Linked DNA regions of Homo sapiens: regions 2, 3, 4, 5, 6 and 7 are each linked to region 1. The links are contacts of gene promoters, found by promoter capture Hi-C in blood cells and fetal thymus (Javierre and others, 2016). All regions are on one chromosome and are shown on one strand. The core of a region is centred on a gene start or on the middle of the fragment in contact, and the rest is flanking DNA. Distances in the headings are between cores, read along the strand shown.

The links. Contacts are between HindIII fragments. The CHiCAGO score rates a contact against its expected background, and 5 or more counts as called.
Region 2: a fragment that was not itself captured here is called in contact with the fragment with the promoter of FEM1C in region 1 in 5 of 17 cell types (non-activated CD4 T cells, naive CD4 T cells, total CD4 T cells and 2 more); the score reaches 10.8 in non-activated CD4 T cells.
Region 3: a contact is called between a fragment that was not itself captured here and the fragment with the promoter of FEM1C in region 1, in 1 of 17 cell types (non-activated CD4 T cells). The highest score is 5.0, in non-activated CD4 T cells.
Region 4: a contact is called between a fragment that was not itself captured here and the fragment with the promoter of FEM1C in region 1, in 3 of 17 cell types (M2 macrophages, non-activated CD4 T cells and activated CD4 T cells). The highest score is 7.3, in M2 macrophages.
Region 5: a contact is called between a fragment that was not itself captured here and the fragment with the promoter of FEM1C in region 1, in 2 of 17 cell types (M2 macrophages and naive CD8 T cells). The highest score is 9.5, in M2 macrophages.
Region 6: a contact is called between a fragment that was not itself captured here and the fragment with the promoter of FEM1C in region 1, in 10 of 17 cell types (activated CD4 T cells, non-activated CD4 T cells, naive CD4 T cells and 7 more). The highest score is 14.9, in activated CD4 T cells.
Region 7: a fragment that was not itself captured here is called in contact with the fragment with the promoter of FEM1C in region 1 in 1 of 17 cell types (non-activated CD4 T cells); the score reaches 7.2 in non-activated CD4 T cells.

What each region holds. Positions count from the first base shown.
Region 1 is chr5:115,543,118-115,546,921 of GRCh38, forward strand. FEM1C (fem-1 homolog C) reads right to left here and starts at 1,658. Exons shown (of 3, transcript NM_020177.3): 1 at 1,406-1,658; 2 at 1-566. The coding sequence starts at 376. RefSeq lists enhancers at 1,207-1,973, 1,515-1,809 and silencers at 1,239-1,408, 1,459-1,508, 1,609-1,948. The HindIII fragment of the contact is 1,787 bases long and covers 846-2,632 here.
Region 2 is chr5:112,862,667-112,866,416 of GRCh38, forward strand. It overlaps SRP19 (signal recognition particle 19), which reads left to right. Exons shown (of 5, transcript NM_003135.3): 3 at 1,791-1,862; 4 at 1,955-2,066. Among named protein-coding and RNA genes, the nearest start is that of SRP19, 3.3 kb to the left of the region's middle. The HindIII fragment of the contact is 1,434 bases long and covers 636-2,069 here.
Region 3 is chr5:112,909,484-112,913,256 of GRCh38, forward strand. All of the region lies in intron 2 of REEP5 (receptor accessory protein 5), which reads right to left. Among named protein-coding and RNA genes, the nearest start is that of REEP5, 11 kb to the right of the region's middle. The HindIII fragment of the contact is 597 bases long and covers 1,896-2,492 here.
Region 4 is chr5:112,958,213-112,962,071 of GRCh38, forward strand. No RefSeq gene overlaps it. Among named protein-coding and RNA genes, the nearest start is that of DCP2, 17 kb to the right of the region's middle. RefSeq lists an enhancer at 1,780-2,074. The HindIII fragment of the contact is 1,819 bases long and covers 663-2,481 here.
Region 5 is chr5:112,940,630-112,944,368 of GRCh38, forward strand. No RefSeq gene overlaps it. Among named protein-coding and RNA genes, the nearest start is that of REEP5, 20 kb to the left of the region's middle. The HindIII fragment of the contact is 985 bases long and covers 1,179-2,163 here.
Region 6 is chr5:112,981,803-112,985,288 of GRCh38, forward strand. All of the region lies in intron 1 of DCP2 (decapping mRNA 2), which reads left to right. Among named protein-coding and RNA genes, the nearest start is that of DCP2, 6.7 kb to the left of the region's middle. RefSeq lists an enhancer at 1-175. The HindIII fragment of the contact is 7,597 bases long and covers 1-3,486 here.
Region 7 is chr5:112,696,545-112,700,044 of GRCh38, forward strand. No RefSeq gene overlaps it. Among named protein-coding and RNA genes, the nearest start is that of APC, 40 kb to the right of the region's middle. The HindIII fragment of the contact is 274 bases long and covers 1,136-1,409 here.

The DNA.
Region 1 (3,804 bases), core at 408-2,907:
CGAAACACGCAGCTCGAAGAGGAGTTGAATTGGTTAAAGTCGTGTTGTTGACAGATGCTCCATGATTTAACAAGGACTGGACCACCTTCAGATGTCCTGCTGCAGAAGCGGCCCATAAAGGGGGAGCCCCCTCAATGGTTTCGCCATCAAAATTGACGGAGCCCCCAACTTCTATGGAGGCACTGCATTGCTCTAGGAGGAATTCCACCATGTCAAGGTGCCCATACCTGGCGGCCATCAAGAGTGGCGTGGCCCCATTTGTTTTTTCAGAGATCAAGGAGGAAACCTCCTCTTTGGATTTGCTTGCCAACAATTTGGTGAGAAGCCGGAGTTTGCCATCCCGAGCTGCGTTAAATACTGCTGTCTTTAGATCCATTTATGTCCAGTTGAGAGGCTGTGCTTTATTTATCTTTCAAAGCAGAGCTCCAGTTTAACTCTATCGACACAGGCAAGAGTCACAGGAACCAAAGTCCAATGTTAATTGCTGCACCCCAGAACGGATACACAACCACGAAGAGTATGTTCCGTCCTACTGCTTTCCAACATCTGACAACCAGGGCACCAAACTAGAGAAAGAAAAAAAAAGTAGCAGCATTTAATTTTCTATAGAAGAAGGCAAAACACTTCTTAATTTCCACTTCTGTGGGAAGAAAGGAATAAAAGCTATACTTCAGGCACTACTCCATCCCACACACCCCCCCCACCCCCAAAGAAAAGGTGGTAAAGAAAAATACAGAAGGATACACAGAGACCCAAATGTTCTGGTCGCAGGCAGTCTCCTCCATGTGCGGAAAATTTAAACACTACAGGCAGCCCGTTTTCTCGCCTCCAGCTCTAACCAGCCAAGCTTTGTTCTAGTTTTGCTTTGCACACGCCCAGGGAGAGTACAACCGAAAGAGGCAGGAGACTCGGGTTCAGAAATGTTTCTCTTTCTTGCAACTGCAGGAGAGCTGGCCAAGGGCGCCAGGCTGGAAGGCCTGAGGCCGGGTTTCGAGAAAGAACAAAAAGGTCGGACACACCAAACCCCGGCTAAGGCCAAAACTGTGCCCCGAAAGATTCTCTTTCCTTTAAAACTACTCACGGCTCTCAGGAAATCCGCCTGCCTTTTAGTCATTAACTTCGCCCGCCCCATTTCGATCACCCCCCACCCCCCGCCAAGGGATGATCCGCAGGTTCCTCAAACCACAGTCGCCCCAACACAACCTTCCCCTCTCCCTGTTCCAGACAACGGCAGCCCCCTCCCAATCTCCTCCATCGACCACAACCCCCTCCCGATGGGCCAAGCTGTGGCCTCCAGCCCGCTGCCCGCCTTCGGCTCCCCCGGCGCCCTCCTTCCCGCCCAGGCCTTCCGCGGGCACCTCAGGCCCCGGCCCGAGCCCTGGCAGGCCGCTGCCGCCGCCACTACCTGCCCGGGGACTAGTCCTCCCCGCCGCCGCTGGTCACTCGGGCTTTGTCCGTCCCCTTCAAAGGGAAACCGTTGTCCCCACCGCCGCCCGGGCCGCCCTGCTCCGCCTGCGGCCGCACAGCTCCTCCATGCTCCGCGCCCCAAAGGAATGAATCCGGCCGCGCTGTTCGCCACGCCCCGCCACCCGAGCTGCCTCCCGCCCTTAGTCGGCTCGGACTGCAGCGGCTGCAGCGACTGCTGCGACGGATGGTGTAATGGGCTGCGAGCCGGGGGCCGGACAAGCCTGAGCGTCACATCACTGACTGTGCCGCCACGCCATTGGGCCGGGGGAGGGCGGCGGCCGCGGCCAGCAACAGCCTAGGCGCGGGGCGGGGCGTCGCGGCCGGGGTGGGGCGACGGGGAGGGGGCGGGGCCTGAACTACTGGGAGGACGTGCCTGCGTGCAACGCGCTGGGGGGCGGGGCGCTGCGAGGGGGCGGATCTGTGCCCATCGAAGCGGCCCGAGGCAGCTCGAGTTCTGAGATCTCGCTGGCTCTTCTCCTCTCGGATTTTCGGGGTGCTCCCTTAGGGAATCTTTCGGTCCCATCTCAGAGACCCCAGAAGGGAAGTGTATTAGTGCGTTTTCACGCTGCTGATAAAGACATACCCGAGATTGGGTAATTTATAAAGATAAAAAGATTTAATGCACTCAGAGTTCCACGTGGCTGGGGAGGCCTCACAATCAAGCCAGAAGGGGAAAGGCACGTCTTACATGGCAGCAGGCAAGAGAGGAAAATCAGAGCCAAGGAAAAAGGGAAACCCCATATAAAACAATCAGCTCTCCTGAGACGTACTCACTACCACCAGAGCAGCATGGGGGAAACAGCCTTCTTGATTCAATTATCTCCCACTAGGTCCCTCCCACAATATGTGGGAATCATGGGAGCTAAAATTCAAATTTGGGTGCGGACCAGTATTACCCTCACACACGTGAAGTCTCTCGGACTAGTCTTCCGTCCTTACTTTGGTGGGCCCTGGAAATTACCAAGCTCGTAATTACACCTCAGAACACACACGGAGGAAACTGAAATTTCAGAAAATGTGATTAGTTTTGGAGGCTGTCAAACTGACTCTCTTTCTAAAGTAGCCTCTAAAAAGCATAAAGGCTACGAGGAATGGTAAACCCTAAGAGCAATGTAAAGTCAATGAGGTCAGGTTCTTGAGCTCTGAGTAATAAATCGGGAACTAAAGCTTAAAAGGTTATATATATGAATGAAAAGAATTACTTCTTCATATAGTAGTTGATAAACCTCTGGAATTTGATGCTAAAACCTACGTTGCATTAAACTAGGATGAAAAAGTTTAAATGTGTTTGGGAAATAACGCCCATAATGAATCCTGATGAGAAAACAGAATTTTTGAAAATGGACCTTCAATCACTTTGTTTGAGGGAACTTAAGCTCACATAATTCCTTAGTACCACTAGGAGAAATAGAATATTACAGTAGGCAGTCTGACCCTCAGCATATGTAATCCATAACGTTATGTTAGAAGTCATGCAGCACTAAAAACATTTATAAAAAATCACAACTTCATTTTTGTATATTGTAGTGTTGTTCAGAAGTTTATGTAGTTTTGCATAATTGAAATAATTTTCATACAACTATATATTTTGCTTTTCCTTTCTATACTCTAAACGTTTCTTATGTTTTTACAGTCTTAATAATTTTTAAGTATAGCATAGTATTTCCCTTAGGTAGTCAGTATCAGACTACACTCAACATCAGATTCCCAAAACTGAAGTTAAGGTAATTGCCACTGAGAAGAAAATATAAAAGAATAGAGTATAAAGGATAAGATTGACCATCCATAAAAATTAACCAGCCAAGAGGACTGGCTGTTTTATCCCCAGCATATGTCACAGTTCTATACTCTCCCAGGGTACAGATAACAGTGTACAGTGTCCCAACCAAGGCCTAACCTGAGCTGACCTGTCTCTCTCACCTAATTCAATAAGATGTAAACATTCACATCAGCCATCTTCAAACTGAGCTCTGTATCCCTCATGGGATTGTTAAGGGATAGACGGACACTTAGTTTAAAGGCTACCAATTTCTGCTGTGGCTCACACCTGTAATCCCAGAACTTTCGGAGGCTGAGACAGGCAGATTGCTTGAACCCAAGAGGTCGAGACCAGCCTGGACAACATGGTGAAATCCCAACTCCACACACACGCACACACACATGCACGCACACGCACACACACACAAAAAATTAGTCAGGCATGGCATGCAGGAGGCTGAGGTGGCAGGATCACCTGAGCTGAGCTGGGGAGATCAAGGCTATAGTGAGCCATGATCACACCACTGTGCTGCAGCCTGGGCCACAGAAGGAAACTCTGTCAAAAAAAAAAAAAAAAAA
Region 2 (3,750 bases), core at 103-2,602, 2.7 Mb before region 1:
AGGGGGTTCTCTTCACTGCATTTATTTAGGGCTTGAGAACACAGCCAAGAATTGGGGTGCGTTCCTCAGTGTTGGTGAAACCAGAAAGGCATTAATTCATAGCTGAAGGGATATTTTTTTAACGTCTCTTAATGAGCCTTTGTTTGTAAAGGAGTGGGGGCAGAGTGTAGAGTTCACATGTTTTTAAAACAAAGGTTATGACGGTGTTTCCCTTGATATAGGAAATCAAAATTATGACATTGTACGATACATTAATAATGTTCAGAATGTAGTTGAGATTTTTTTAAGTGTGTGAAGAAGACATGCAGAAAGTTCAGCCCTGTTGAGTTTTATTAAAGTGTCATTTGTATTTTGTAATATGACAGATTTAAGACACCTAGGTTTGATGCAGTGAATTCTCCCATGATGAGTACATCTGGGTGGTAACAAGCACTCAAAAAAGAAAACACTACAAGCATCCAGGAAGATTGCTTTATGTTCCCTCTCAGTCACTGTCGCCTCCGCATATGCTCAAAAATACCAGGATGACCACCGTTATGACTTCAACACCATAGATTACTTTTGCTGCTTTTTCAGTTTTCTGTAAATGGAATTACACACTATGTAATTTTGTATCTTTTTTTCACTGAACTTTAAGCTTTTGAGATTTACCTACATATTTGAATGTAGTTGAATTTTCATTGCTCTATAACAGGGTTTGTCAATAGCAGCACCATTGCCGATTTGAGCTAGATAATTGTTGTTGGGGGTTGTTCTGTGCATTTTAAGATGTTCAGCAGTATCCCTGGCCTCTACCCACTAGATGACAGGTCAGCCCCCTCCAGCCCCCCATCCCCTAGTTGTGACAATCAAAAATGTCTCCAAGCATTGCTAGATGTCTTTTGTGTGTGGGTAGGGGTAGGGAGGCTGAGGACAGAATTTCCCTGCTCAAAACTACTGCCCTGTCTCCTCTATAGTATCGCATGGTGTGAGTATGCCAAAGTCTTTTCTACCTTCTTTTTTGTTTGTTTTTTTAAGAGACAGGGTCTGGCTCTGTCACCCAGGCTGGAGTGCGGCAGTGTAGTCTCAGCGCACTGCAGGCTCCACCTCCTGGACTCAAGCCATCCTCCAACCTCAGCCTTCTGAGTAGCTGGGACTACAGGCACATGCCACCATGTCCGGCTACTTTGGTATTTTTTTGTAGCAATGAGATTTCTCCATGTTGTCCAGGCTTGTCTCAAACTCCTGAGCTGAAGTGATCTGCTGGGATTACAGGTGTGAGCCACCACACCTGGCCCTTTCTACTCTGGATGGAAAATTGGATTATTTCTATTAATAGTTTGAGGCTATTATAAATAGATGTTTTTTAGAGAACATATTTTTGCTTTTTTGTAGAACGCATCTGGGAATGGAATTGCAGGGCCATAGAGAATGCATATATTCAGCTTTAGTAGATACTAGCAGTTTTCTAAAGTGTTTGTATGTGTAATTGTTTAAGCAGTCAATAATCATTGAGCACCTACTATGTTGAGAGTACCATGCTAGGTGCTGGGGAATACACTGGTTAACAAAACAAAGCCCCTGCCCTCAGAAGTTTATGTTCTGTTGGAGGGGAGATGGGCACACAGTTACGCATTAGTGTTATTCCTAGGAATTTTTAAAATTACAATAGAAGCATCTGTACTTAATGAAAAAGGAAACCTAGGGTTTTGGTACTTGTTTGATTATAGTATTTGAAATTATTTACCCAACACTATGGCAGTGTCCACTTAAAGCACATATATTTAGTGTTTATGTTTTTAACTGTTCAGGCTGTTGAAAATCCTACAGCTACAGAGATTCAAGATGTATGTTCAGCAGTTGGACTTAACGTATTTCTTGAGGTATGACGTGGTTCTTCACTATTTTCCATACTCATCTAATTGATGTAATAACTTTCTTAAGTCCTGTTTTTCTTTTGTTTCGTTTATGTTAGAAAAATAAAATGTACTCTAGAGAATGGAATCGTGATGTCCAATACAGAGGCAGAGTCCGGGTCCAGCTCAAACAGGAAGATGGGAGCCTCTGCCTTGTACAGTTCCCATCACGTAAGCTTGTTTAAATGAATCAGTGGGGCTCAGGGATAGGTTTCTCCTACACAACACAAAAAAGGTTCTAAAACTGAAAGGTAAAAGTCAGAATTTGCATTCTGAAGATTAATTTAAAGACAGGACTACTGCTCATGGAGAGAAGCAGTAGTTCTAATTTCTTTGAGGTGAATGACCTCTTTGAAAATGTAATGAGACCCACTAAACATTTTTCAAAAAAATTGTTGTGTGAACATTTTATAAACCTCTGGAAGTCTGTCATTGCTCCCAGGTTAAGAATATAAAATTATTAAATCGTTGGATGTTAATTGCCATTTCAGATCCTAGAGGTCCTTGAGGTCTGTTAATATCTATAATATCTAATGATTCTATCATTAATAAATCTGAAAAGCAATATTGACTGAAAAAAGCAAGAGATATACATAGTGTGGTACCACTTAGGTAAATTTAAATACAAAATATTACTATTTATTGATAGATGCATATGTAATGTTGCTTATTGGCATTTTTTTGAAATGCTCTGTAAGGAAACACTCATTCTTAAGAGAGTAGTCACCTAATGGTGAGCGGGGTAGAGAGTAGAGACACGGGTTGATGGTCATAGAAGACTGTTGCATCATCTCTAGTGTTTTATTTTATGAAAAACAATAGCAAAACGACATCAATATAACAGAATGTTCTGAATATTAGGAAGATAAGTTTTTGTTTGCATGTTGTTTATTTTTCTGAATTTTCATCTCTGAAAATTTTAATTTTTTAAAACAGAGCTATTAATTTTTTCTTTCAGTTTAATAACCCCCTCAGTTTAATTAAACTGTCATTAAATTTACTTAAAAATAATGAAATCGTCAGACGAACTGACAGCTTGTTTGATTTTTTTTTTTTTTGAGATGGAGTCTCGCTCTGGCTGGAGTACAGTGGCGCGATCTCAGCTCACTGCAACCTCCGACTCCCTGGTTCAAGCGATTCTCCTGTCTCAGCCTCCCAAGTAGCTGGGACTACAGGCATGTGCCATCACACCCAGCTAACTTTTGTATTTTTGATAGAGATGGGGTTTCGCCATGTTGGCCAGAATGGTCTCGATCTCTTGACCTCGTGATCCACCCACCTCGGCCTCCCAAAGTGCTGGGATTACAGGCATAAGCCACTGCCCCCGGCCTGATTTTTTTAAAATAGAGAGACAAGGGTCTCACTGTGTTGCCCAGGCTAGTCTCAAACTCAAGCAATCTTCCCATCTTGGGGAGATCCCAAAATGCTGAGATTACAGGCGTTTGCCACCATGCCCAGCCTGCATGTTTGAACTTTTATTTTTAAAGACAAGGTCTCACTCTGTCATCGAGGTTGAGTGCAGTGGCACGATTATGGCACACTGCAGTCTTTTTTCTTTTTTTTTTTTTTTCTGAGACAGAGTTTTGCTCTTGTTGCCCAGGCTGCAGTGCAATGGCGTGATCTTGGCTCACCGCAACCTCCGCCTCCCGGGTTCAAGTGATTCTCCTGCCTCAGCCGTCTGAGTAGCTGGGATTTCAGGCATGAGCCACCAGACCCGGCTAATTTTGTATTTTTAGTAGAGATGGAGTTTCTCCATCTTGGTCAGGCTGGTCTCGAACTCTCGACCTCAGGTGATCCGCCCACCTTGGCCTCCCAGAATGTTGGGATTATAGGCGTGAGCCACTGCGCCCAGCCA
Region 3 (3,773 bases), core at 944-3,443, 2.6 Mb before region 1:
ATCAATTTTAATTATACCCTACTCCAAATCCCATATGCTACAGGTAGTAAGAAGTTAGCTGAAATCCCCAAATTCATGTTTGCAGGTAGTGGGAAGAAATTTGAACATTGCTGAAAACATTTTTCAGGCCCACTCTGCAATGGTAGAATGGCAGAAATTCTTTACATTGGCATTGGACTGGTACATATATGAACACAACTCACTGGCCATCCCTCATCCAGTACACTGGGCCCCAGTAACTGGTACCAGTTCACTCCACCCTTGCTGGCCCATCTACTTGTTCACACCTTGGCTGCTATTTTCTGAAAGCAAAGGCAAGAACCAAGGATGGCCAAAGAATAGCATTAACATGTGAAGAAAACAAGGTTGAGCAGAGATGATTCTGGGCTGGAATCTCCTTCCCAAATTAAGTGTCATCTTTCAGAAAACCTAAGATATTCCCTGACCCATGACACAAGTAAGCTGTACATTCTCTAAGGACTTTAGGTGACAATGATGTGTCAATGTATGTTCACCAATTATAAAAAACAGCACTCTGACCAGGCACAATGGCTCACGCCTGTAATCGCAGCATTTTGGGAGGCCAAGGAGGGTGGATCACTTGAGGTCAGGAGTTCAAGGCCAGACTGGCCAACATGGTGATACCCCGTCTCTACTAAAAATACAAAAATTAGCCAGGCATAGTGGTGTGCACCTGTAGTCCCAGCTACTCGGGAGGCTGAAGCAGGAGAATTACTTGAACCCGGGAGGTGGAGCTGCAGTGAGCTGAGATCGTGCCACTGCACTCCAGCCTGGGCGACAGAGCAGGACTCCATCTCAAAAAAAAACAAAGACAAAAACATACCCCTCTTGTAGGTGATGCTGATGGTAGAGGAGGCTGTGTATGTGTAGGCGTAGTGGGTACATGGGAAATCTTTGTATCTTCTGCTCAATTTCACTGTGAACCTAAAATTGCTCTAAAAAATAAAATCCATTTAAAAACAAAAAAGAGAAAAAAAAACTTCACTTACCACCTAGGCATTCTATAATACCAGATTTTTAAAACTATTTTATTACCATCATGCCATTTTGGTTGTTTTGATCTGGAGAGAGTATCTGTCCCCATAAATCTAGATACCATATATATGCTAATAACTTCCAAATTTATATCTGCAGCTCAATCTCTCCATTGTACACTGCCTGGCAGTTAACTATTCACTGCTGAATGATGGTCACCAGCATGATCAGATTGTCATGGTAACACTGCTGCTTCAAAAATCCTATTACAGCAACCGGTCACTATCATTGCTCAAGGAAATAGCAGACACTGTTCCTTGCCTATCAATTAGCCAGTCCTTCCTACTCACCCACAGAGCCCTGATTTTATATACATGTACCTGGCAAATCTGTCTTGACTCAGGGAAGCTAGGCTCCTGCCCCAGGCCTAGGGGATAAATCAAAGTTAGTACAAATCCACCATGGTAATCCCATTGCTTTTTGCTAGATACTGACTTTCTTAGCCCCCTTGGAGTTAAGGGTATCCATGTGACACAGTTCTGACCAATGAAACAGAAAAGGAAATACGGTAGAAGGCTTTGGGACAAAATTTTCCTCTGCTGATAAAATATGAGAGGCGCACAAATAAAAGGTCTTCCAGCTTCCTGCTCTTGAAAGCCTTAGCGCTATATGGCAACAATCTTGTTATATATTAAGGAAACAGGCGTGGGCGAGGAAGATTATACTCCAAAGTCGCTGGAAAAGAGCATGGATTTCTGCTGTAGCGCCTTGAAATTTCAACCTCCAGACTTCTTACATGAGGTAATTCAAGGTCATTATTCTTTAGGCCACTGTAAATGGCTGCAGCTCACTGAACTGACATAAAAGGTGTGCATCATCACCAAAAGCTTTCTAAGCTAAGCTTAAGCTCGGTATTGGTCAAAATGTGCTCTTCTTCTTTTGCTGAGGTTTCATCTATCAATCAATATTTCAAAATACTTACAGCTAATGCTTACTTGGAGGGAGACAGGAAAGGGACAACCTTCCATACTATTTTTCAAATTATTTCAGACACAATAAATCCATCTGGAAAAACATCCACTTTTACAAGTTCTTAATTCAGATCTATTTTGTTCTTACCATGCAAAATAGATCAAATGCTTTTTTATATGTGAACTGTACAACCTTTTTATATTTCTGTTTTGAGTTCTTGCTTTTAGGACCAAGTTCACATTTCTTATGCATAAGATTTAATATTAAAAAATTGTTAGTCCAACTTATACTCAATGCTTAGGAACATATACACCATTGTACCAGTACAGAAGAAAACCACTAGCCATATCACATATTTTTAACTTGGAAGAACAAAACTTTACTGTGTTTTATTCTTTGAATAATGATGTCTTAAGCTGATTTAAGTACAGGAAAAAAATAATAAGACAAGGAACAAAAAATGAAAGTGAAAAAATAAATGAAAGAAAATACTCTTAGGAAGGTTTTTCCTTAAATCAATGAAAAGCTTAATGACACAAAGTTAAAGAACTATGACTATGATTAAGTCAATTTTCCTCTTTATATGTTAATGAAACTAACTCCCCTTAATTGAGCACTTACAGAATGCCTGATTTGTCCTAAACGTTTGACATATATTATCCCAACTCCCCCCAACCCTATCCCCACCTTTTACATATGAGAAAACTGAATTTTATAAAAGTTAAGCTGTTTGCTCAAGAGGTAATAATCAGCTCCATATACACATGCTTTTGGCTACTCACACCTAAGACACATAGGTACATACTATGTGTTCTGTGCATGGTTCATAAGTAACTCAGTTGCTACAATTCAAACTAGCCAAATGACATAAAATTAAGTAATAGTATGTCTTCACAGCATTGGCTTTATTATTCAAACCAGTTGTACCAATATCAACTATTTACCAGAGACTGACAGTGTGGAAAAAAAAGCAGTTCATTAAAATATATCTATATATCCATTTATACCCATATATATTTTAATTTTATCCATATATATGGATAAAAAGCTTTAAGATGTCCTATTGGTAAAGAACAGAAAGGAATCATCTTCTGGTCCATCTGCTTTATATTTTATTTCTAATGTGGTAACTTATGTTTAATAGCAAATATTCCAGAGGTTAAGATAGGTTCTTTGGAAATTGAATATGAAGAACATGGACCATAATGTTTATAATCCTTTTTGTTATGGCAGACACATAACTTGACCATCCTCCATGCCCACCATGCATGGGATTGCTTTTGGCTGTATTTATCAGAGAGTATGATGTAGGAATTCTTAGTAATTCAAAATGGTTTTCCTATTATCAGTACCTCAAATAAGAAGGAAAAAAGAATCAGACATTTTAAGACATAAACACTAGTTCGTTTCCATGCCAATAAGGAAAATATTTTTCTCCTTCATAGAAAAAAAGAAGGCAGGAAACTATGCGTGATCAGAAAGTTACATATCTTTTTCACTGCAGAGTATATGTGCTTTTAAAGCAAGAGAGAAAACCAACAAACAGTACGAGAAAGACTAATGAAAGACTGACCGGGCACAGTGGCTCATGTCTGTAATCCCAACACTTTGGGAGGCCAAGGCAGATGGATCACCTAAGGTCATGAGTTCAAGACCAGCCTGGCCAACATGGTGAAACCCCATCTCTATTAAAAACACAAAAAATTGGTGGCAGATGCCTGTAATCCCAGCTACTTGGGAGGCTGAGGCAGGAGAATCGCTTGAACCCGGGAGGTGGAGGCTGCAGTGAGCTGATTGCGCCACTG
Region 4 (3,859 bases), core at 322-2,821, 2.6 Mb before region 1:
TGATCTTTTATTACTCTGTCTCTGACTTGGACAGTGTGGTCTCCTTACCCCACACTTCCATTCCAATTCCGCATCCCTTCCCAAAATTCTGATTCTGCTTAAGACCATCTACATGTGCTGTTTGTACTTGGCTTCCAGGGTGCAGTTTGACTTTCCAGTCTCTCAAATATTTTTGATCTGGACTGTTTCCATCTCTTTTGCAGGGTGCTTAGTCGTGCTGACAGAAAGTTACATGGGATATAAAAATGTAATCTCAGGGTTGCTTGAAAAGTGTTGAATTGAAATGAAGCCTAAGCTGAGTGATTTTCAAGGTTAAAGGTCCTATTAGAGCCATTATATGGAAGTACTGCCAAGCAGATGGTTAAGTTGGTTACTCAGTGTTTCTTTAGTCTGTGGGACTTGAGGCGCAGTGCCAAACCCTGCAGCTCAGATCTCTTTCAGGCTTTCCCTGTGTACCCTGGTGACTCATTGTTTTTTTAAAGATGCAAATAATGTTAGCGAACTGTCTAATTCAACTCTTCCCCCTTGGACCCATGAGACAGTTTTCTGCAGATAGCATATTTTGCTCATGATATATCAATTTTATTATTGTAAATCAGAGTGTTCTCAACTTCTCTAAGTGTTGGTGGCCATTCTTGTTTGTGCCAAATTAGCAGGGTCTAAGCTTCTGTCTCTATTTCCAAGGTTACCGTCCTGCCAATCATCTTTTGCTCTCATCACTTTTTTTTAATGCTTCTTTGCTTTCCTAATAACCATGTATTCCAAATGTAGGTACAGACCTCTCCCTTGACTCCCCCAAAACATAGTGAGAGCAGACTTAGTGTGTTAGTTAGGACTCTTGGTTGCAAGAGACAAAAATTCTATTCAAACTGGTTTTAAAGAACAACAACAATGACAAAAAAGAGAATGTATTGGCTAAGGTAATGAAAGATCCAGGGAATATATGTAGTTTGAGGCTCGGTTGGATTCTAGGGCTCAAACAGTAAGATAAGAAATTACTCCATTACTCAGAGTAATGGAGTTTGAAAAAGAAAATAGAAAAGAAACAGAAAGTGGCTTCTCTTCATCTCTTTCTCCTGCTTTCTTCTGTTTTGGCTTCATTCTTATGCAGGCTTTCCTGAGTGGTAGCAGAGAAAGCACTGGAATCCCCAGGCTTATGTTCCTAGCACTTTAGCAAGCCCAACAGAAAGAAGAAGCATTTCTTTTCCAATCAGTTAAGAAGACATCCTCATGTTGGGTCTTTGGCAATTTGGCTTGGGTTCCTAGCTTTTTTTTTTTTTTTTTTTAATGGAGTCTCACTCTGTCACCCAGGCTGGAGTGCAGCAGTGTGATCTCTATAGAATGAATAAGACTTAGTATTTGTTTTTTGTTTTGTTTTGTTTTGTTTTTTTTGAGACGGAGTCTTGCTCTGTCGCCCAGGCTGGAGTGCAATGGCACGATCTCGGCTCACTGCAACCTCCGCCTCCTGGGTTCAAGTGATTCTCCAGCCTCAGCCTCCTGAGTAGCTGGGATTACAGGTGTGTGCCACCACGCCCAGCTAATGTTTGTTTGTTTTTTTAATAGAGACGGGGTTTTGCCACGTTGGCCAGGCTGGTCTCGAACTATAATTTTTTGTTGTTTGTTTGCTTGAGACAGAGTCTCACCCTGCCACCAAGCTGGAGTGCAGTGGCAGGATCTCGGCTTACCGCAACCTCCAACTCCCTGGTTCAAGTGATTCTCCAGCCTCAGCCTCCCGAGTAGCTGGGATTACAGACACGTGCCACCATGCCCAGCTAATTTTTGTTAGAGACGGGGTTTCGCCATGTTGGCCAGGCTGGTCTTGAACTCCTGACCTTCGGTGATTCACCTGCCTTGGCCTCCTAAAGTGCTAGGATTACAGGCGTGAGTCATCATGCCTGGCCTCCTGGCTTATTTCTTAAATAATCATGGTGACAAGTGCTCTTGGAGGTTGGAGTGAGGGTGGAGGGGTTAGAAATGAGGAATCAAACCCACTCAGAGTACATGAATGAGAATGGGGGAGGAGTTGCTCCTGAAGGAAAAACAGCTTTATGCTTCCAGAGAGAAAATGAATGCTGAGAAGTTTTTTTGTTTGTTTGGTTTTTGTTTTTTGTTTTTTAAAGAGGCAGATGCTCACTGCACTTGGACTTTAGCAAAGAAAATTACTTTTCAGAAAAGGAAAAAGAATCCCCCTTAAAATGAAAGCATGTTGATATTCTGGCTCCTAGATCCATCTGTGCAGGGGCCTGCTCTTCCAGCTGTCACCCTCCTTAGGCCTCTGGTGCTAGGAGCATCTTTGAAATCATAGATGACAGATGGGGATTCTCTGACCTGGAGCCCTACCCAGGCTGCAGGCCCTCAACTATAGCCTTTTTTTTTTTTTTTTCCTAGAAAGAGGAAATCCTTCCTGCCTGCTTCTTCTCTCTTCTTCCAACATCATAATCCTCTTTCTGCAGTGCCTCAACTCTGCTCAGAGGAAGATAAAGCTTCGCATCATTCTTCAGAGCTGTTTACCTTCAATTGTCTCAAACTCTTCTGTCTGTAATAGTTTTGGAGCTTTAATTTTGTATGCTAAAAGGGCCTATTAAAATGTTTTTATCCAAAGAAAAGTGCACTCTCAAGCCTTAACTGAGAACTACCTTTGCCTCTACATGAGGAGAGGATTACTTATGTCAGTTTGGACTACTGTCTACATATAACAGAAAAAAACCAGTATCATCGCTTAAACAAAGTAGACATTTATTTCTCTCTCTCGCTCAGTAAAAGAATTCTAGAAATAGGCACTCCAGAGCTGGTTTAGTGGCTCCAAGGTCATCAGGGACCAGAGAGTTCTATTTTGCTACTCTGCTCAGGTTACCGATTGCTGGCGACAGGAAGGGACAAAGAGGAAGGGGTGGAAAAGAGGCTTCTGCTTTCTTTTAACAACTTCCCAAGGGTTCTAGACCACCGTTATGCTTGTATCTCCTTGGCCAAATGCAGTTTCACATCTAGCAGCATATGGCCGTGAGACAGACAAGGACATGTAGGCTTTTAAATGAGGCCTTTAACTGAGAGGAGGGAGGAGATTGGACATTGGAGAGGGCAGCTCCCAGTGATGGTGTCTGTCATATTGTTGACTTGCCAGTCAAGGGCTCTGTAATACTGACTGGCCTGGAACCCACTGTGCTGCTTTGATCTTGGAGGACCAGGATGCCTTTTCACTACCCTCTTTGCTGCTCTCAAGCCCTTATTTCAGCTGATATTTTGGTAGTCTATCTATGGCTCCTAAGATTTAGTCAATATAATTTTAGGATCATATCAGAAAATAGATTCAGGCAGTATGTATGAGAGCTCTGAAAAAATAGGTTTCAGTAATTTTAAGCAGTTGCTCATAGTTCCTATGTAAAGCTAAGAGGAAGGCATGTAAAAGTCATAGAAAAGTTTTCATTTGGAATATACTGTAAATATTGAACACCCAGACAGAAAATGGTTATAAAAGGGCAACATGAAGGAACCTGTGGTAATTAAATGTTCTGTGTCTTGACTGCATTGATTTCAATATCTTGGTTGTGATACTGTTTTGCAAGATGTTACCATTGCGGAAAACTGGGTAAAGTATATACCAAGTTTCTATTTTGAGAAAATTCATATCCAGTTGTAGGAAGATCTCTCTTCTACAATTTTCTCAAAATAGAAAGTTTAATTTTACAAAAAGTGAACGGCATATATTTTTTAAATATATGAGTCTGCTGTGTTGCCAGGCTGGAATGCAGTGGCTATTCACAGGCTGGACCATAGCTCACTGAAGCCTTGGACTCCTGGGCTCAAGTGATTCCCCTGAGTAGCTGGGACAGGAGTGTGCCACTCCATCAGCTAACAGCAT
Region 5 (3,739 bases), core at 421-2,920, 2.6 Mb before region 1:
TCTAGATGAGATGGAGCTTGCATTTTTCTGGTTTATTGACTTGGATAGTTATTTCTAATAAATCCAGCAATAACAGGACAAATGAAAGCTACCACAACAGGAAGGAATTAAAAACCGCAATCATTTTGTTGCCATTTTTGTTATTGCCATAGGTGGTAAGATTGATTTCCTTTTTGAATCCAAGGAACTGAGCTATAAATGACCCTTCCAAGGTGAACACGGGGAGAAAGCCTTCTATGCACAGTCAGCATTCTCTACCATCCATTTTGTTAGTCTGCAGGGCTGCAAGAAAAAGGGCCTTCATGGTGTGTAGATTGAGTTGTGGCTAAACTGGAGCATTTACTTGGGCACCTCTACAGCCCCTTCAGTGTCCTTTTTCCTCTGAGGATGAATACTCTTCTACTCCCACACTCATTTTCTTTATAATATCTGCTTTCAGAAAAAGTCTGAAATGTACTTATAATGTGCCACCACCTAAATAGGGAACAAACCTAGGGAAGTGTTGGGGCTGGAATGATCAAGTCTGGCACAGTCTCTAGACCTTGACTAAATAACTGAAGATGAGAGCTCCAAGACAACCTGCCCCTATATCTATATAGAGTGATGAATTTGTAGCTATAATAAAATATTTTACCCATAAAGTTCTGGCCCTATGGATGTGGGTGTTTTTATGCCTTTGTGGGTGTCTTTCTCTTCTATGTTTGGACTTGCTTTTTATGCCCCTATTTCTTTTTCTCTCTTCATTTCTTTTCTTTTCTCTTTACTTTTTCCTCTTAATTGGCCATAATATATTGTGAAAGCTGATTTCTTATTGACCTTATCAAGTAATTATATTTTCTATGTACTCTGTGTTAAGAATGAAACTCGGCTGGCACTTATTTGGAGGCTAGGGGTCAACTATGTTTTATATTCCATTATCACTAATTGACATTGCATTATTCATTTATTGGTTTATTTCTCCTATTGTGTAAACACCCTGAGAGCTGGGCCTTGGTCTCATTCTCTGCTGTATCCCAATGGGGTCCACTCTGCAGCCACAGGAGAGGTCCTTCATTTACCCTGTCCCAATCCCAATCCTTTCCTTTTCCCCTGAAAGTAACTACATCTTGAGTTTTATGTTCATTGCTTTCTTGCTTTCTTTATAGTTCTGTCGCCCATGATGCACCTCTAAACTCTGAAGCTTAATTTTCCTTCTAACTATATACATCTTTTAAGTCTCTTTTACCTACCCCTTCAATCCCCTTTGCCCCACCTTTTTCAACTTACTTCTGAAAGAAACTGGGTTGTTTTATCTGACTTGTAGAGTTTCCCACATCTGTATTTTGCTGATTGCATTCCCATGTAATTTACACTTGTCTGTTTTCTGTATTTTCTATAAATTGGTAGTGAGATTATGGCCTTGATCAGATTCAGGTACAATTTTCAGGCTAGACTCCTTTGTAGGTGACTTGTAGAAAATATGTAATAACTGATTGTCTCTCTCTGTGTGATGTTGGCAACCACTGATCCATTAATTCATCAGAAATTGAAAACTTCTCTACTTCTACTTGCTTACTTTGTATAGAAAAGACAGAATAAATGCTTAATGAAAGTGCATCTTTAGGTGTACAATATATAAAACAAATATATACAAATAAGAGAACTTACTAACCACAGACCTACAGTGAAAGATCTACTAAAAAGACATACTTCAGTTAGAAGAACAGTAAACCCAGGAAGAAAAAATTAGATGTAAGCAAACATGAAAAGCATAGAAATTGATAAGTTGGTAAGTACAATTAACTATCAATATAAAAAATAATTTGAGGGTTAAAAATAATATGGGGGCCAGGTGCAGTGGCTCACGCCTGTAATCGCAGCACTTAGGGAGGCCAAGGCGGGCAGATCATCTGAGGCCAGGAGTTCGAGACTAGTCTGGCAGACATGGCAAAACCCCGTCTCTACTAAAAATATATAAATTAGCTGGGCGTGATGGCATATGCCTGTAATTCCAGATACTCAGGAGGCTGAGGCAGGAGAATTGCTTGAACCGGGAGGTGGAGGTTGCAGTGAGCTGAGATTGCGCCATTGCACTCCAGCCTGGGCGACAAGAGTGAAACTCCACCTCAAAAAAATAAATTAAAAATAAAAACAATAATGTGGAAGTACTTACTAGGTAATTAAAGCTTGTTTAGGTTTGTGTCTTGTTCAGGAGAAGGAAAAAACACTGTGTATGTAATTGGAGACTTTATAGGAAAAATGTAGAGATATTCATGTTAAAAAAAATAGAAATGCTATGCATAGCCTTAAAACCAACAAAGAAGGAAAGAAGAATATAGAAAATTTCATCAGTCCCAAAGAAGCAACAGGAATAAAAAGAGAAAAAGAAAAAAAGAAAAAGGGTAGTAAAGCAAAGACCTAAATTAGATGGTAAAAATAAATTTAAATATACCAGGATGACTGACTATATAAGTTTATTAGATAGAATTCATTTACTAATAGATAAAAATCATCTCATTTGATTAACAAGCAAGCAAACAATAGTGTAAATAGTTCAAGGAGCCCACTTAAAACCATCCAGAAATTTCAAGATAAAAGTAAAGAAAAATATAACAATCAAATACTAATAAAAAAAAGAGTACGCAGAAATGCTAATAACATAATGGAATTAACAGCAAATGAATAGAATTATTATTATTATTATTTTTTTTTGAGACAGAGTCTCGCTCTGTCACCCAGGCTGGAGTGCAGTGGCACGATCTCGGCTCACTGCAACGTCTGCCTCCCAGGCTAAAGCGATTCTCATGCCTCAGCCTCCAAAGTAGTTGGGATTACAGGCACCCGCCATCACACCTGGCTAATTTTTGTATTTTTAGTAGAGATGGGTTTTTGCCATGTTGGCCAGGCTGGTCTCAAACTCATGACCTCAAGTGATCCCCCCAATTCAGCCTCCCAAAGCGCTGGGATTACAGGCATGAGTCACGAATAAAATTTAAGATGAAAAGCTTCATTTGGGGTAAAAATGAAAACTTTTTAATGATAGAATAATTTAAGTCAGGCGTGGTGACTCGTACCTGTAATCCTAGCACTTTGGAAGCCTGAGGTGATCGGATTACTAGAGTTCAGGAGTTGGAGACCAGCCTGGGCAACATGACAAAACCCCATCTCTACAAAAAGTACAAAAATTAGCCAGACGTGGTGGCGGGTGCCTGTAATCCCAGCTACTTTAGAGGCTGAAGTGGGAGGATTGTTTGAGCCCAGGATGCAGAGGTTGCAGTGAGCTGTGATCAAGCCACTGCACTCCAGCCTAGGGGGCAAAGTGAGAGTTTGTCTCAAAAAAAAAAAAAAAAAAGAAAAAGAAAGAAAGAATAACTTAGTATGAACCAGCACATCCCCAGCTGTGGTGGCTACAGGAAGAAACTCCTGTTTGAGAAAAGCAGAGGGAAAAGTAAAGGGGACTTTGTCTTGCACCTTAGGTACGATCTTGGCCACAGTGGGTGTAGAGCAAATAAGAAGGCTCTTAGAGTCCCTGAGTCCAGGCCTAGGCTCTTGGACTGCATTTCTGGACCCACCCTGGGCTAGAGGGGAGCCTACTGCCCTGAAGGCTGTTTTTTTTGTTTGTTTGTTTTGTTTTGTTTTGAGATGGAGTCTGGAGTGCAATGGCGGATCTCAGCTCACTGCAAGCTCCGCCTCCCAGGTTCACACCATTCTCCTGCCTTAGCCTCCCGAGCAGCTGGGACTACAGGCGCCCGCCACCACG
Region 6 (3,486 bases), core at 184-2,683, 2.6 Mb before region 1:
GCTCGTTTGCCCAGGCTGGAGGCAATGATGTGGTCTCAGCTCACTGCAACCCGTGTCTCCTGGGTTCAAGCGATTCTCCTGCCTCATCCTCCCGAGTAGCTGGGATTACAGGCACCCTCCACCACACCATTTTTTATATTTTTAGTGGAGACGGGGTTTCACCATGTGTTAGCCAGGCTGGTCTTGAACTCCTGACCTCAGGTGATCCGCCTGCCATGGCCTCCCAAAGTGCTGGGATTACAGGCGGGAGCCACCATGCCAGGCCCCTTCTGGCTATTCTTGAAATCCATTTTTTTGAGGGGAGGGGACAGTTGGCTTTCTGTTCTAACTTTGGTGTTTTTGCTTCACATTTGGACTATGATTCTGTTGTACATGTACTCCTCTCTAATATGTCCAAAGTTTCTAGCTGCTTTTTTCAACCCTTCTCATCCGCTTCCTTATCTTATCCTCAATCATACTTTCGACAGAATCCTTTTTTCCCTTTAGACTGCACTCTTGGGGACCTCCATCCTCCTAATCCAGTCTGGACTCGTTGCTCCTCAGACTTGCCTAGCAACTAGAATACTAGAATTCACTTTCACAACTCTCTGAGATGGTACTTACTCTTTCTTGAATATCATGTTTCATCCTTTCTTGGTTTTCATTCTTGTTTTGCTTGTGCGCATTTTAAGTTAATTTCTTTGAGGGGGTTCATTAGGAAGTAAACTGAGTCCTTTAATGTGTAAAATACCTGTTTCTGTTTTCACACTTAGTTCCCACATGGTCTAGCGTCCACATTTTGAGTACCAGTGTCTAGGTGATATCCTTAATACTACCTTCCACTGCTTCCGTTGGTTATAGTAATAATAGTTTTTTTTCCCCCCGAGGGCTCTTACTTAGTTACTGTACATTTAAAGAAAAATACAGTTGCTCTGAAAAAGGAATACTCTTTTAAATTTCTTTTAGGATAATAATTCCATCTTTCAACCCTCACTCCTGTTTTCTTCTGGTTCCTCAATTATGTTTTCTTCAGCGTCAGTTAAAAAACTTTCTTGTCATGCTTCACATTTTCCTTAGATGGTAGGTGATTTTTGGATGCCTTTTTATATTAATGATGAGACATTTGGGAGGTTTATTCATTAATACGCTTCTCCTTTATGTGAGTAGATAGGGAGCTGGCTCTTACACTTGAGGGTTTTTCATTTTTTAAAATACAGATAAAGCAGACTTTAAAGGATAAAGGTGGTGGTTATCAGTGTTGATTAATCAAGTTGGGCTCAAGGATTTCACAGGTCTTAAATGCCATCACACAGACTGCCATGCCAAGGGCATTCTGAATGCCAATTACAGATTGAAGTTCCTTCAGAAACCAAGATGTTATCAAAAACTGATGAAGTCTGGGTTTCTCTTCAAGTAAGACAAACACATTTCTTACATAGAGAAAATAGACTACTTGGTTCTGAAAGTTAAAACACTACGCTGAATAATTCCCCTCCCCTTCCCCACAAGTCCCTAAGGCAATATTACGGTTGCCTCTGACAGTTAAAATTTCAGCATTTCAACAGAGCGGGCTGAGGAGAACTGGGAAAAATGAAAAGCAAAATTAATGTAATTGATATGGGGGGTATTTTTTTAAAAAAATAGAGACGGGGTCTCACATTGTTGACCAGGCTGAATTTGAACTCCTTGGCTTTAGTAGCTGGAATTTCAGGCATGTACTACCATGCCTGGCAAGGCAGTATAGAAACATAAAGACTCACAGTAGGATTGACTTACGAGACCTTTCAGCACTGAAGGATATGAGTTTCCAAGTATGTATAGTCTATGGAATGACAGTGTAGTGGATCAAAAATAGACACTGCAAAATTTCACAACACTGGGGATGGAAGGAAGATATTAGAAGCATCCAGACTGGGGAAAAAAAAAGGTCATATACAAAACATTAAGAATCTGAATGGCTTTTGTCCTTGGCACAAATTAGAAGTAAAAAGAAAAAAAATCTGAATGGCTTCGATCTTCTCAATATCAAAATTGCAAGTTGGAATTAAGAACACTTTTGAAGATTCTGAAAGAAAATCATTTCCAACTTAGAATTCTTTACCCAAATTATCAAGTATGAGGATAAAGACATTTTAGATGTGTAGTATCTTAAAATATAGTATTTACCTCCCCTTTGCATCCTTCCTTCACAGGATATGTGAGGATTACTTCATGAAAACAAGGAAGTGAATTAAGGAGGATGAAAACAAAAAGACAAGACACATGACCTCTGTGGGATAAAGGCACAGGGAACTATAGGATGCTTGTGAAAGGGCAGTGTAGAGTTGACAGATGTGTACCAGGTGTAGAGGACAGCTGATCCAGACTAGAACAGATCAGAAGACTAGAAGTCTTAAAGATGAAACTGATGAATCTGAATTGTGGGGAAAAAAAATCCAAAATGAAACTGATGGATCTGAAAAGAAAATTCACAATGGAGATGATTATGTCAGAATATCCAAAAAGGAGCCAGGAGGGCATAAGGAGTTGGATCCTGGTCACATACACATCTAGATGGAGTTTCACCTGCTGAACTGGGCCAAAGTGTAAAACTAGCTGCATTTGACTTGAGTTGTATATACTGGGCCTGATCAACCGCCTGGAGAGATAACCATACCCAACTATATTGATCATTGACTAGAGACATCCTGAGCTGACAACCAGCCATCATTTATCATGGACTGTGCTAAAACCTTCCAGATACGTAAATTTACAGTAGCCCTTAAAAGCTCTGCCTAACCTTGCCTGAATGCAACATGATTTAGCTGCTTGCTAGACTTGTGTCTCCCAAATTGCAATCTCTAAAAACCTGATTAAAATGCCTTTTGCTACTCCAGTGTTGCAGTGTTGTTTTTATTTCTTAATTAAAAAAAAAAAAAAAAAATATATATATATATATATATATTTGAGACAGTGTCTCGTCACCCAGGCTGGAATGTAGTGACATGATCATAGCCCACTGCAGCCTTGAACACCTCGGCTCAAGTGATCCTCCTGCCTTAGCCTCCCAAGCAGCTAGGACTACAGATGCATGCCACCATATCTGGCTAATTTTTAAATTCCTTTGTTGAGAAGGGCCTCTTGTAATTGGAGAAGAGTATTCTTATGCTTATTTGAAACTTGGAAACAGCCAAGAATTATTTACTATGATAGTGATTAAGCAAGTGATCAAACTGGGTGGTACTATTTTTAATTTTAAAAAATGACTCTAAAAACCAGTGGACTTGAATCTGTCTCTAATGGTTACTGGGAAAAAGGATTACCAAAAATGCTTAACATTGGAAAAAATAAGTGATAGCTGCTTAATGACTGCTCTGAATTACAACATTGACTTAGATTGATGAATTTTAACTTGTATGTTTCATAATAAAGGGGTTCATTATCCTAATTACATATGTGTACATGCAATATTAGTGTATATTAATATAAATGTATATTTATATGTAAAAGAAATATGTCTTTCCTTTC
Region 7 (3,500 bases), core at 23-2,522, 2.8 Mb before region 1:
TCGCTCTGGCCAATTTCAAACTACCAATGTGACATCATTGAACTTAGTGTTTTGAGTAGATGTGCCCTAGAACATTATACAGTTTTTCCACCATTTAGATACAAGAGATGGAATGGCATCAGGAGCATAGGAAATGGTTAAATGTGAGAAAATGATTTGAAAGTGATGAGTTTTGAGTGCTTATTACCTTTGTTTTCAATATAATTTATTGAATTGCAATTTTATATTATTTAATTTTTAATAATAGCTGTGTGTAATTGCCAACTCATAAAATCTCTAAACTGACTTTCTCTCAGTTCTTTAAGCTGGTTCCAGTCTACTAAAGATCTTGGTGCAAGTCTCTGGATCCCTCCCCAACCCCAAATGACGGGGGAGCTGTAGCAGCATGAAGGGAGAGCGGATGCAAACATATGTTGTTTCTCTTGAGCCCCACCGCTCTCAACGTGCTGCTGGGGCTGCTTTGGTCTTGTGGGATGTTCCCCTGAGCTACTCAGACTGGTTGTTAGGGCGGATTATCAATGTCATCAGCCAAACCATAAACTGTGTCAAGATATTGATGTGAATTTCAGTGAAATAAATGATTTGGTTTTCTTTGTTAAATTTTATTCATTAAAATATGCTTTTATAAAATGAGGATTTATTGTAGAGGGCAATATTGTTATTCTGAAATGCCTTTCATTTTAAAGTAAACCTGGAAAGAGCACCACCAAAATGGTGACAATTCTTATCTTGAATGGTGAGATTTTTTTCTTTCTTCTTGAGATTTTCTGGAGTTTCCAAATTTTCTATGATAAACAGCTAAGATTTTGGTAGTATGAAAAACAATTGAGACAAATCTTTAGTAACTTGATATTCAAGTTACATTGGTGCTGTCCCTTTAAGTACTAGAAGAATACGTAGCACTTTCAGTAAAATAATGCCGAGGGAGGAGACATTGCTATGCTCAGTTTCATTTAAAAGCCAGATGTCCAGGAATTGGATATGGCTAATTATCAATTTCTACCCAGATGGAGAGTTTTCCTTTTTTTTTTTTTTTTGTCATTAGACAGAAAAGCACAGAGTCTCTGGCTGATTATTGCATTCAGCCACTTTAATTGGAAAGTTTTAAGAAATAGGTGGAGCTTAAAAGAAGGGAAGCTTAGTGTATCATGAGTGAAATGTTGATACAGGCACAAGAGAAACAAAAAAAGAAGAAACATGTATAATTGGTGTCATAAAGATTTTCAAACTTGCTCTATGACCAATTCAATTACTGCTGGAAATGGAATTCATACCTTCTCATGTCTGCCTTCCAAATTATACCAAGATTTAGCAGCTTATAACAAGAAGTATTTTTTTTTCACAGTTTCTATTGGTCAGGAATTTGAGCATGGTTTACCTAGGTACCCGTGCTTCAAGGTCTCTCATAAAGCTTTCAGCCAAGTCTGTGCTATCATCTGCAGCCTTGACTGGGAGAGTCACTTCCAAGCTCTCTCACATGATTGATGGCAGGGAGTTCCTCATGAACTGTTGGACTAAGAACCTCAGTTCTTCACTAGCTTTTGGGCAGAGGCCTCCCTCAATTCCACGTCAGGTGGGCCTCTCCATAAGGCAGTTTATGTTCTGGATTGGAGCATGTCTTCCACCTTGGTTCATCCATCATTTCTTGTCTTCTAGACACTTGCCAAATCTCTCATCAGCTGATGGAACATTCTTCATTCTCAATAGTCACAAATTTATTCCCTTTTATGCAGTTATTGGGCAGGGAACAGACCCAGGTTTTATCATGAAAGGGTGTTGCATTTTGTCAAATGCTTTTTCTGTATCAAATGATGTGATTACACATGAATTTTCTTCTGTAGCCTGTTGTATGTAGATAATGTAGATCACATTGATTTTCGAATATTGAACTAGCCATGCATACCTGGGAGAAATCCTACTTGCCATGTCATATTTTTTTTAAATATATTATTGGGTTTGATTTTCTAGTACACTCAAAATCCTCCATATCTGTGGGTTCTGCATCCATAAATTCAACCAACTGCAGATCACAAATATTTAGAAAAAGAACAATAAAAATAACAATATAACAATGAAAATAATAAAAATAAAAACCAATATAGTATAACAACAAGTTACATAGCATCTATCCTGTATTAGGTATTACAATCATGAAGTGCATAACAATATTTTAGTCAATAACAGACCACATATACAACGATGATTTCCTAAAATTATCATTCTATATTTTTGCTGTAACTTTTCTATGTTTAAATATACACACACCTACCATTGTGTTACCATTACCTACGGTATTCAGTGCAGTAACCTGTTGTATAAGTATGTAGCCTAGGAGCAATAAGCTAGATCATATATCCTATGTGTGTCCTAGGCTATACCATCTAGGCTTGTGTAAGTACATGCTATGATGTTTGCACAATAACAAAATCACCAAACGCATTTCTCAGAATGTATTCCTGTCGTTAAGCAGAGCATGTCTATAAAGTCATCTAGAGGTGATTTAACATATACAGAGGATATGCCTGGATTATATGCAAATACTGTGCCATTTTATATAAGAAACAAGTATCTGTGGAATTTGGTATTCTCAGGAGCTTGAAACCAATTCCCCATGGATTCCAAGAAAAAACAATGTTTCGTTGAGGATTTCTGTGTCTAAGTTTATGAGAAATATTGGTCTGTAATTTCCTTTTATTCTACTGTTTTTGTCTAGTTTGGGTATCAAAGTAATACTGGCCTCATAAAGTGAATAGAGAAGTAGTCCTTCTTCTTCTATTCTCTAGGATAGAATGTTTAAAATCAGAGCTTATTCTTCTCAGAATGTTTGGTAGAGTTCTCCAGTGAAACCATCTGGGTTTGGAGATTTCTTTTTCCAGAGCGTTTTAGTGGCAGTTCAATTTATTTCATGGTTATAGGACTATTCTGTTTCATCTTGTTTGAGCTTTGGTCATTTACGGTTTTCAAAAATTGGTCCATTTCTTCTAAAGTTGTTTAATTTATAAGTGTACATGTGTCCATGGTATTCCCTTTTATTCTTTTAATAGCTGCAAGAATTATAATTATATCCTGTTTCATGACTGATATTGGTAATTTGTGCCCCCTCTCTTTTTATTTTGTCAGGCTTGCTAGAGGTTTATCAACCAGCTTCATGTTCTATTGATTTCCCTATTGTTATTCTTTTCAATTTCATTGATTTCTGCTTTTATCTTTATTATTTCCTTCCTTTTGCTTTTTTTGAGTTTATTTTGCTCTTCATTTTTCTTGAGGTAGAAACTTAGGTGATTAATTTGGGATCTTTTCTAAGGTAATCATTTTATTTTTTTGAATGTAGTCATTTAGTGCTATGAATTTCCCTCTCAGCACCACCTTAGCTTCATTCCACCAATTTTGATATGTTGTATTTACATTTCCATTCAGTTCTGTATATTTTCTAAAACTTTCCTTTGAGACTTCCTCTTTGCTGAGGTATTATTTAGAATTGTGTCATTTAGCCCAGGCAC